3 separate regions of the Homo sapiens genome follow, and regions 1 and 2 are each linked to region 3. The links are contacts of gene promoters, found by promoter capture Hi-C in blood cells and fetal thymus (Javierre and others, 2016). All regions are on one chromosome and are shown on one strand. The core of a region is centred on a gene start or on the middle of the fragment in contact, and the rest is flanking DNA. Distances in the headings are between cores, read along the strand shown. Region 1 overlaps LOC105371446 (a long non-coding RNA gene). Region 2 has its middle 15 kb from the start of LCE3A. Region 3 holds the start of LCE1F (late cornified envelope 1F).

What was found. The method cuts DNA at HindIII sites, captures the fragments that hold promoters and counts their contacts. A CHiCAGO score of 5 or more calls a contact.
Region 1: a fragment that was not itself captured here is called in contact with the fragment with the promoter of LCE1F in region 3 in 1 of 17 cell types (M2 macrophages); the score reaches 5.2 in M2 macrophages.
Region 2: a contact is called between a fragment that was not itself captured here and the fragment with the promoter of LCE1F in region 3, in 1 of 17 cell types (M2 macrophages). The highest score is 5.5, in M2 macrophages.

What each region holds. Positions count from the first base shown.
Region 1 is chr1:153,013,335-153,016,034 of GRCh38, reverse strand. It overlaps LOC105371446 (a long non-coding RNA gene), which reads right to left. Exons shown (of 3, transcript XR_922151.2): 2 at 2,240-2,300. Among named protein-coding and RNA genes, the nearest start is that of SPRR3, 13 kb to the right of the region's middle. The HindIII fragment of the contact is 1,786 bases long and covers 417-2,202 here.
Region 2 is chr1:152,636,350-152,639,049 of GRCh38, reverse strand. No RefSeq gene overlaps it. Among named protein-coding and RNA genes, the nearest start is that of LCE3A, 15 kb to the right of the region's middle. The HindIII fragment of the contact is 4,038 bases long and covers 1-2,700 here.
Region 3 is chr1:152,773,872-152,776,571 of GRCh38, reverse strand. LCE1F (late cornified envelope 1F) reads right to left here and starts at 1,432. Exons shown (of 2, transcript NM_178354.3): 1 at 1,382-1,432; 2 at 1-222. The coding sequence starts at 200. The HindIII fragment of the contact is 9,364 bases long and covers 1-2,700 here.

The DNA of each region.
Region 1 (2,700 bases), core at 60-2,559, 240 kb before region 3:
TATGAAGTCACCATTATCTCGACGCCAAGCGCAGATATAGACACTGACAGAAAAGAAAACTACAGACCAATATCTCTTAAGAACATTGATGCAAATATCTTTAACAAATGTTAACAAGTTGAATTCAGCAGTATATTAAAAGGACTATATGCCATGACCAAGTGGGATTTATTCCTGAATGCAAGAATGGTTCAACATATGAAAATTGACCATTATAATATATCACATTAAAATAACAAAGAAAAGCATCACATAATCATCTCAACTGATGCAAAGAAAGCATTGGACAAAATTTGACATTCTTTTATTATAAAAACACCCAACAAACTAAGAATAGAAGAAAACTTTCAACATTCTAAAAGTCATGTGAAAAAACCACAGCCAACATCACACTCAATGGTGAAAGACTGAAAGCTTTTTCCTTAAGATGAAGAAAAGGCAAGGATGTCTTCTTTTGCCACTTCTACTCAATGTAGTCCTGGACATTTTAGCCAGAGTAATTAGACAGGAGAAAAAACAAAAGGTATCCAAATTGGAAAAGAAGTAAAATTATCTCTATTAATAGATGATATGACCGGAAGATTCTATAAAAAGTTGTTAGAACTAATAACACATTATAGCAGGATACAAGGTCAATGCACAGAAATCAATTATGTCTCTATGTACTAATAATAAAAAATCTGAAAGAAAATTAAGAAAAAATTTTATTTATAATGGAATGAAAAAGAATAACATACTTAGGAATTAACAGAGGTAGTTATAGACTTTACAATAAACTATAAAACATTGTTGAAATAAATTAAAGAAGACATAAAATAAATGGAAAGACATCTGTGTTCATGACCTGGAAGACTTAACATTGTTAAGATGTCAATGCTACCCAAAGCGATCTACAGATTCAGTGTAATCTCTATCAAAATCCCAATGATGTTTATTGTAGAAATATGAAAACCCATCCTAAAATCCATCTGGAATCTCAAGGGATCCTGAATAGCCAAAAGAATCTTGAAAAATAAGAGCAAAGCAGAAAGAGTCACACCTGTTAATTTCAAAACTTACTATGAATCTCTAATAATCAAAAGTGTGGTATTGGCATGAATACAGACATTTAAACCAGTAGAATACAACTGAGAGCCCAGAAATAAACTATCAAATACATGATACAGTTATTTTTGAAAGGACAGCCTTTTCAACAAATGGTGCTGGGAAAACTGGATATCCACATGCAAAAGAATAAGGTTGGACTCTTGCCTAAGACCGCATATAAAAATTAAACTCAAGGTGGATTCATGACCTAAATGTAAGACCTGAAACTATAAAGCTCTTCAAAGAAAACATAGGGTAAAAACTTTACAACACTGAATTTAGCAATGATTTTTTTGGATATGACACCAAAGGTAGAGACAACAACAAATAATAGATAAATTGGACTTAGTAAATTAAAAAGTAATGTATACTAAAAGAATGTCTTCAACACTGAAAAAGGGAACTCACTGAATGGGAAAATATATTTGCAAGTCATATATATCGTATGGGATTAATATCCAAAAGGCATAGAGAAGTCCTGAAACTCAACAACCAACAAAACCAAATGTCCCAATTAAAAAAATAGGAAAACTAGGTAAATAACTTGCCTAAGCATTTATTTAAATAAGTTCAGAAAACATTGGCCAAGGTATACCATGGCCAATAAGAACATGAAAAGATACTGAACATCACTAACCATTAGAGAAATGTAAATCAAAACTACAATGAGATACCACCTCATATCCATTAGGATGGCTACCATCAAAATGCCAGAAAATAGAAAGTGTTGGTGAGGACGTGGAGAATTTGGAACCTTTGTGCACTGTTGGTAGTAGTTTAAAATGGTACAGCTGCTCTGGAAAACAGTATGACCTTTTCTTAAAAAATTAAAACTAGAGTTACAATATGAACTATAAATTCCATATCTGGGTATATACTTCAATGAATTGAAAGCAGGGACATGAAGAGATATTTATATACCCATGTTCATAGCAGTATTATTCATAATAGCTTAAATGCGGAAGCAACGCAGGTGTTCATTAATGGAAGTATGAATAAGACAAATGTGGCATATACCTATGGTGGAATATCATTTGGCCTTAAAAAGGAAGGAAATTCTTACATATGCTATGACATAGATGAATCTTGAGGATATTATTCTAAGTGAAATAAGCTTGTCATTAAAAGATAAATACTCTATTATTCCACTTACATGAGGTACATAGAATAGTCAAAATCCTGGAGACATAAAATAGAGTAGTGGTTGCCAGGGCCTGGGGAAAGGAGAAAATGGGTTGTTATTTTTATGGGTATAACATTTCAGTTTTACAAGATGAAAAGAGTTATGGAGATGGATGGTGGTGATGATTACATAGCAATACGAGTGTAATTAATATCACTGAACTATATATTTAAAATGGTTAAAATGATAAATGTTATGTATATTTTATTACAACAAAATATTTTTAAAAAGACATGAAGAACTGATTAATACCAGAACACAAATGAGCCTTGAAAACTTTATTCTAAGTGAAAGAAAGCAGTCACAAAAGACCATGTATTATATAATGTCATTCATTTGAAATGTCCAGGGTAGGAAAATCTACAGAGACAGAAAGTAGATTAGTGGTTGCTTAGGGTTGGGGGAGAGGGTAAAAAAATAGGAGGATGATA
Region 2 (2,700 bases), core at 59-2,558, 140 kb after region 3:
AGTTCTGGAGGCTGGGAAGTCCAAGAGCATGGTGCTAGTATCTGGTAAGGGTTATTCTGTGGCAGAAGGCAGAAGGCAGAAGGCCAAGTGAATATATGAGACAGAGAGAAAATGGGGACTGAATTTATTCCTTTATCAGGAACCCACTCCTGCAACAACTAGCCCACTCCCATGACAACAGCACTAATCCACTCATGATGGTGGAGCCCTCATGGCCCAATCACCTCTGAAAGGCCCAAATTTTCAACACTGTTACAATGGCAACCAAATTGCAACATGAGTGTTGGAGGGGACATTTAAACTATAGCAGAAAAACAAAACAATTTTAGTCTCTATCCTCATGGAGGTAATAAACTCATGGCTAAAGCAGCCAATTATGCAAGAAATTACTACAAAATGTGGACTGTGGGAGTATATAGTAAGATAACCCAAGATAGTCTATGTAGGACTGAAGGGAGCTGGTTAATAAGAGTACCTTCTCAATGATAACAGCCTACACCACCTCTCTGCTGCCCAAGACCCATCACAGACACGAGGCAGACTTTCACTGCCATTGAGACAAACACTAAGAATGGGTAACATGATGACACAAATGATGCCAAGGACTTCCAAGAATACAGAGCAATAACTCTCATACAGACTTTTTAAAAAATTACTTGGTAGTATCTAGTAAAACTGAGCATATGCACAACTTGTGACCTATTCCCCAAATATAATCCTCCAAAATCCACACGTATATGTACCGAAGGCATATATAAGAATGGTCATGGCAGAACTACTTGTAACAAACAAAAAACTGAAACCTAACCAAATGTCCTTTAATCAGAGAATTAAGTGTGGAATGCTTACCCAATTAAATACTATATCACTATGAAAATTGACAAACTATAACTTCACACAATACTATGGATGAGTCTCATAAACATAATGCTGAGCAAAGAAACCAGATGCAAAAGAGCACTTAGCATATGGTTTCATTTCTATAAAGTTTGAAAACAAGCAAAATTAATCCATACTGTTAAAAATCAGGATAACAGTTACCTTTGGTGTGGATGGGAATAACGGTAACTCGAAAGGGGAGTAAGGAGAGCTTCTAAGATGCTGGTAATCATTTCTCTGTTGATCTGGGTGTTGTTATGTAAGTGTGTTACCTTTTTGAAAAAGCATCAGGCTGTATACAATGATTGTGTGCTTTGCTTTATGCATGTAATACTTCAATTAAGTTATCTTTTAAAACTCAGGAATTTCTCTCCCAGCAATAGCCAACTATGTTGTTTTAGCTTCCCAATAAGAACAGCTAAAATATGTGGACAATATGTTTCTAAACTCCTTTGAAGACCGAGAAGAGGGACTAAGGTAGATTTCTGGATTTAGCAAATAAAAATACAAGACACCCAATTAAATGTAAATTTCAGATAAACAATAACTTTTTAGTATAAATCTCCAATACTACATAGTATATACTTACACTAAAAATGTATTCGCTGGTTATCCATTGTTTAAATTTAACTGGCCATCTTATATTTTATCTTGCAAGCCTATTCCAAGGCAGTGAAAACAGATGATGTCAAGACGTGGAAACAGAGGGTCTTCAAGCAGGGTGGGTCAGATATTTGGGACATGTATTCCCTGCAGCCATTTGTGAATGCTGAAAGTGAAAGTGGTGGCTAAGAAGCTGAGAGGCCAAATCAAGATTTTAGCATCTCACCAGGAAGGAGTTCAGAGCTTGACAAGAAGGAGTGCAAGAAACACCAGGCCTCAGGTGGATCCCCAAGCACTAATAGTAGAAGAAGTTTGTGCATGGGATGCCTAATCATTCTTGGAACTGTGGTTTGATATCTTTTGTCAGTATGTCAAAATTCAGAGTGATTATTTCTTCATGTACTGCTTATTTCTGTTCTCTCTCTTCTTCTGGGATTCCAAGTATTATTATCTAGATATTAGAACTTTTCACTATAGTCCATATATATTTTGTATTTTTTTTTTATTTTCTGGTTGTTTGTCTTCCCTTGCTTCAATATTTTCTTCTGTCCAATCTAACAGTTGCTAATTATCTCTTCTGTTGTGCTGTCTGTTATTTAACCTCTCTACTGAGTTCTTAATTTTGGTTATTAATTTTTCAGGTCTAGACTTCCATGTTGTTACCTTTTGGAATTTGTAGATCCCTGTGCAAGTTTTCCACCTTGCCTTTTAATTTATTCAGCATACTAATCATAGATATTTTCAAATATGTATCTCATAACTATACTAGCTAGATATCCTCTGGTCTGTTTGCATTGCTTGTTTTCTCTTACTTTTTCTAGTCAAATTTTTAAAAATATATTTGGTTTTTTTTCATTAATTGTAGAGCTCTATATGAAAAATTTATAGAAGTCATTTAGTCTCTAAATGTCGATTTTATTTTCTTTCTAGCAAGCATCTAGGCTGGGAGCACTAACACTCCCAGGTAATACCAATCTGATCAGGGGCTAAGATCATTCAAAGCCTGGCTTCAGTCTCTTTGCAGAATTGCAGGCTGCTTTTATTTTTGGGACAGAGTCTTGCTCTGTCTCCCAAGCTGGAGTGTAGCGGTGCGATCTTGGCTCACTGCAACCTCTGCTTCCCAGGCTCAAACGATTCTCCTGCCTCAGCCTCCCAAGTAGCTGGGACTACAGGCACACACCACCACACCCAGCTAATTTTTGTGGCTAATTCTTGTGT
Region 3 (2,700 bases), core at 183-2,682:
CAGCCACCACCCCCAGAGCTGCAGCAGCCCCCAGAGCTGGAGCCACAGCAGCCTCCGGAGCTGACGCTGCAGCAGGAAGAGACAGGAGGGCACTTAGGGGGACACTTTGGGGGGCACTTCGGTGTGGGGCACTTGGGAGGGCACTTGGGAGTGCACTTGGGAGGGGGCTGGCACTGCTGCTGGCTCTGCTGGCAAGACATCTCGGTGGCGGGTGTTCAGGAGCTGAAGGAGGGTCAGACAGCAAGTTAGATGGAGGCAGAGGACACCCCTGCCTATTCTTGTCCTTTCTGCATTATTTCTAGATCCTTCATTTTGAAAGCCTTATATCAAACATAGGAAAATCACCTCTAATGTTTTTATCACTCTCAATGTTTACCAAGTGCTTTCATTCATGGATTCTCATTTCAAACCTTATTTGAGATGTTGTCATGCAATATATAATCTCCAAATATGTAAATAAAGTTTCTGCTCATTAAAAGCTCCTAAGTGTGGGAGAGAAGTCCAGGAAATAAATTGGCTCCGGGCCAGCATTCATTCTATCACATCACCAAGAATTCTGAAAATGTTCAATGTTGAGACCAGTTTAGAGATGAAAATCTCTTTAAGGAAAAATCAAAATAAATTTCTATTGGAAGAACTGATATATTTCAGTTTGCAGAAATAGAGAAAACTATAACCGCAAAGGATGTTGGAGTCAATTTGTTCCAACCAACTCAATATATAAATAAAGAAACTGAAGCCAAAAGAGGTAACTTCACTGGCCCAAAGTTATTCATTAACAGTCACATTTGTTCCGGGGTCCCCTGGTTCCCATCCTGGGCTCTGCCCTTTAGCACATCCTGCCTCCCCAGGCCTGTCCCCAGGCACTGTCACATGGCTTTTAAACTCCAGTGTGCACTCAGTTTTCCACTACAGATCTTCTTGTTGGCATCTAACAAGATCCACAGGTGTCTTTGATCCTTTCTTCCTCTAAGTAGCAGTGTTCTCAGCATATCTTTTCTAAAAGTGAGTATGTCTGTATTTCCAAAATTATATTCCCACTATGCAGCCCACTCTAGCAACATCCAGTGGCCAATGTGTTTATTCTCTAAAACCAGAGAAACACACTGAGCAACTGAAAACAATTTGGTTCCTCTAAATCTGTGTCATACAGCCCTTCAGATCTTACCAGTTCTTCTTAATCTCTCTCACTCCACCCCACCCCTCTACCTCCTCTTTCCAATTTTCTGCCCCCACCCCATTCCTTGCCAATCACAATTCCAGGCCCCTGAGGCCCTGCCTAGACTCTACTCCTGCCCTGGTCTGAGTATCCATCCCCTCCTTCCCTGGCCTGGGCATCCCTCTGTGGAAGCCCCTGCTCCTTTTTCCAGGGCACACTTACCAGGATCACAGGCAGCACAGGGTTCTTCAGCACCGCAGGAGGTGAGTGGATGGGATGCTCTGGCCCTGAGCCCTTTTATTCTGTCCTTGGGTGCTGCCTCCAGCGGTGAGACAGAGCCTGGGCATGAGAGGACCTGCCTCCCGACACCCACATAGGTCTTGTGACGAGTGGTGACTGGCAGTTCTGCATATACCGTCCTTCATTGGTGTTCAGGGGAGCTGCTGTCAGCTAGGAAAGAGCTTGGTGGAAATGGGGGCTTGTGGTGGGTGAAAATGGACATCATGGTTCCTGGAGTCCTCCGTGGCCTATTTCCTATGAAGATGGCTCTCTTCACAGTCTTGTAGTCACACTTATGAATTCTGCACAAACAACTCATTTTTCCTTCTATTCTAGATACTAATTTTCCATCTAGACCTTTGGGTCCATATAGCTTGGTTAAAAATCCACATGCCTGCATTATGGGGTTTGTCCATGTGCACATGGGCATGTGTGTGCATCATAGAAGTCGAGAAAAGAGGCCTTGGAGACCCTGGCAAAGTATTCAATATTTTTGGCCATTGGCTTTCTGATGTTTTAAATGAAGATAATAAGAGAAATATCTTTTCTGCAGGATTTACAAATTAATTAAGATAACAAAGGGGAAGTAGCTGAGATAGTATGTGGCATGTGGTTATAATTAGGAAATGGATGAATAGGTAGATAGATAGATAGATAGATAGATAGATAGATAGATAGAAAGAAAAATAGAGGCAAACCTGAGATTTTAATGGACATTGGGAATTTTTAAAGTCACAGGTGCCTTTTAAGTTAGGTGGCTCTTATTAAAACTAAAGGCCATTTTTTTTTCCTCCTACGTACCTCAGTGAATAGGGCTTTCTGAAGGTAGATCCAGAGTGGGTATAAGAAAAGAGGACTAAAGGATGTATATTGCCCCAAATTATAGCATAAAAGAATTTGCAGTTTCCTGAGGAAAAGCTGAAGGGATGAGGTAAAATAAAGATGAGAAGGGTGAAGAGAAGAGAACAGCCAATGAGGTGGCTTTGAACTGTGACTTGGAGTGGTGTAGTTGGTATAGACAAGAATAGACATAGTCAATATTTAATTTGAAATTATTGGCTTTGTTGCAATACACATTTCCTGGGTTTAATTTCCCAGTTTCCCATGCTCAAAACTAACCAAATGCAAAATCTAACAATAAAAAACCAATATTTGAAAAATAAATATGGTCAAAATTACATATAACATCAAAGAATTATTGGATGGTTTTAGCAGATTATAAGTTGCAGAAGAACAGATCGGTGAACTTGAAGAAATTGTTC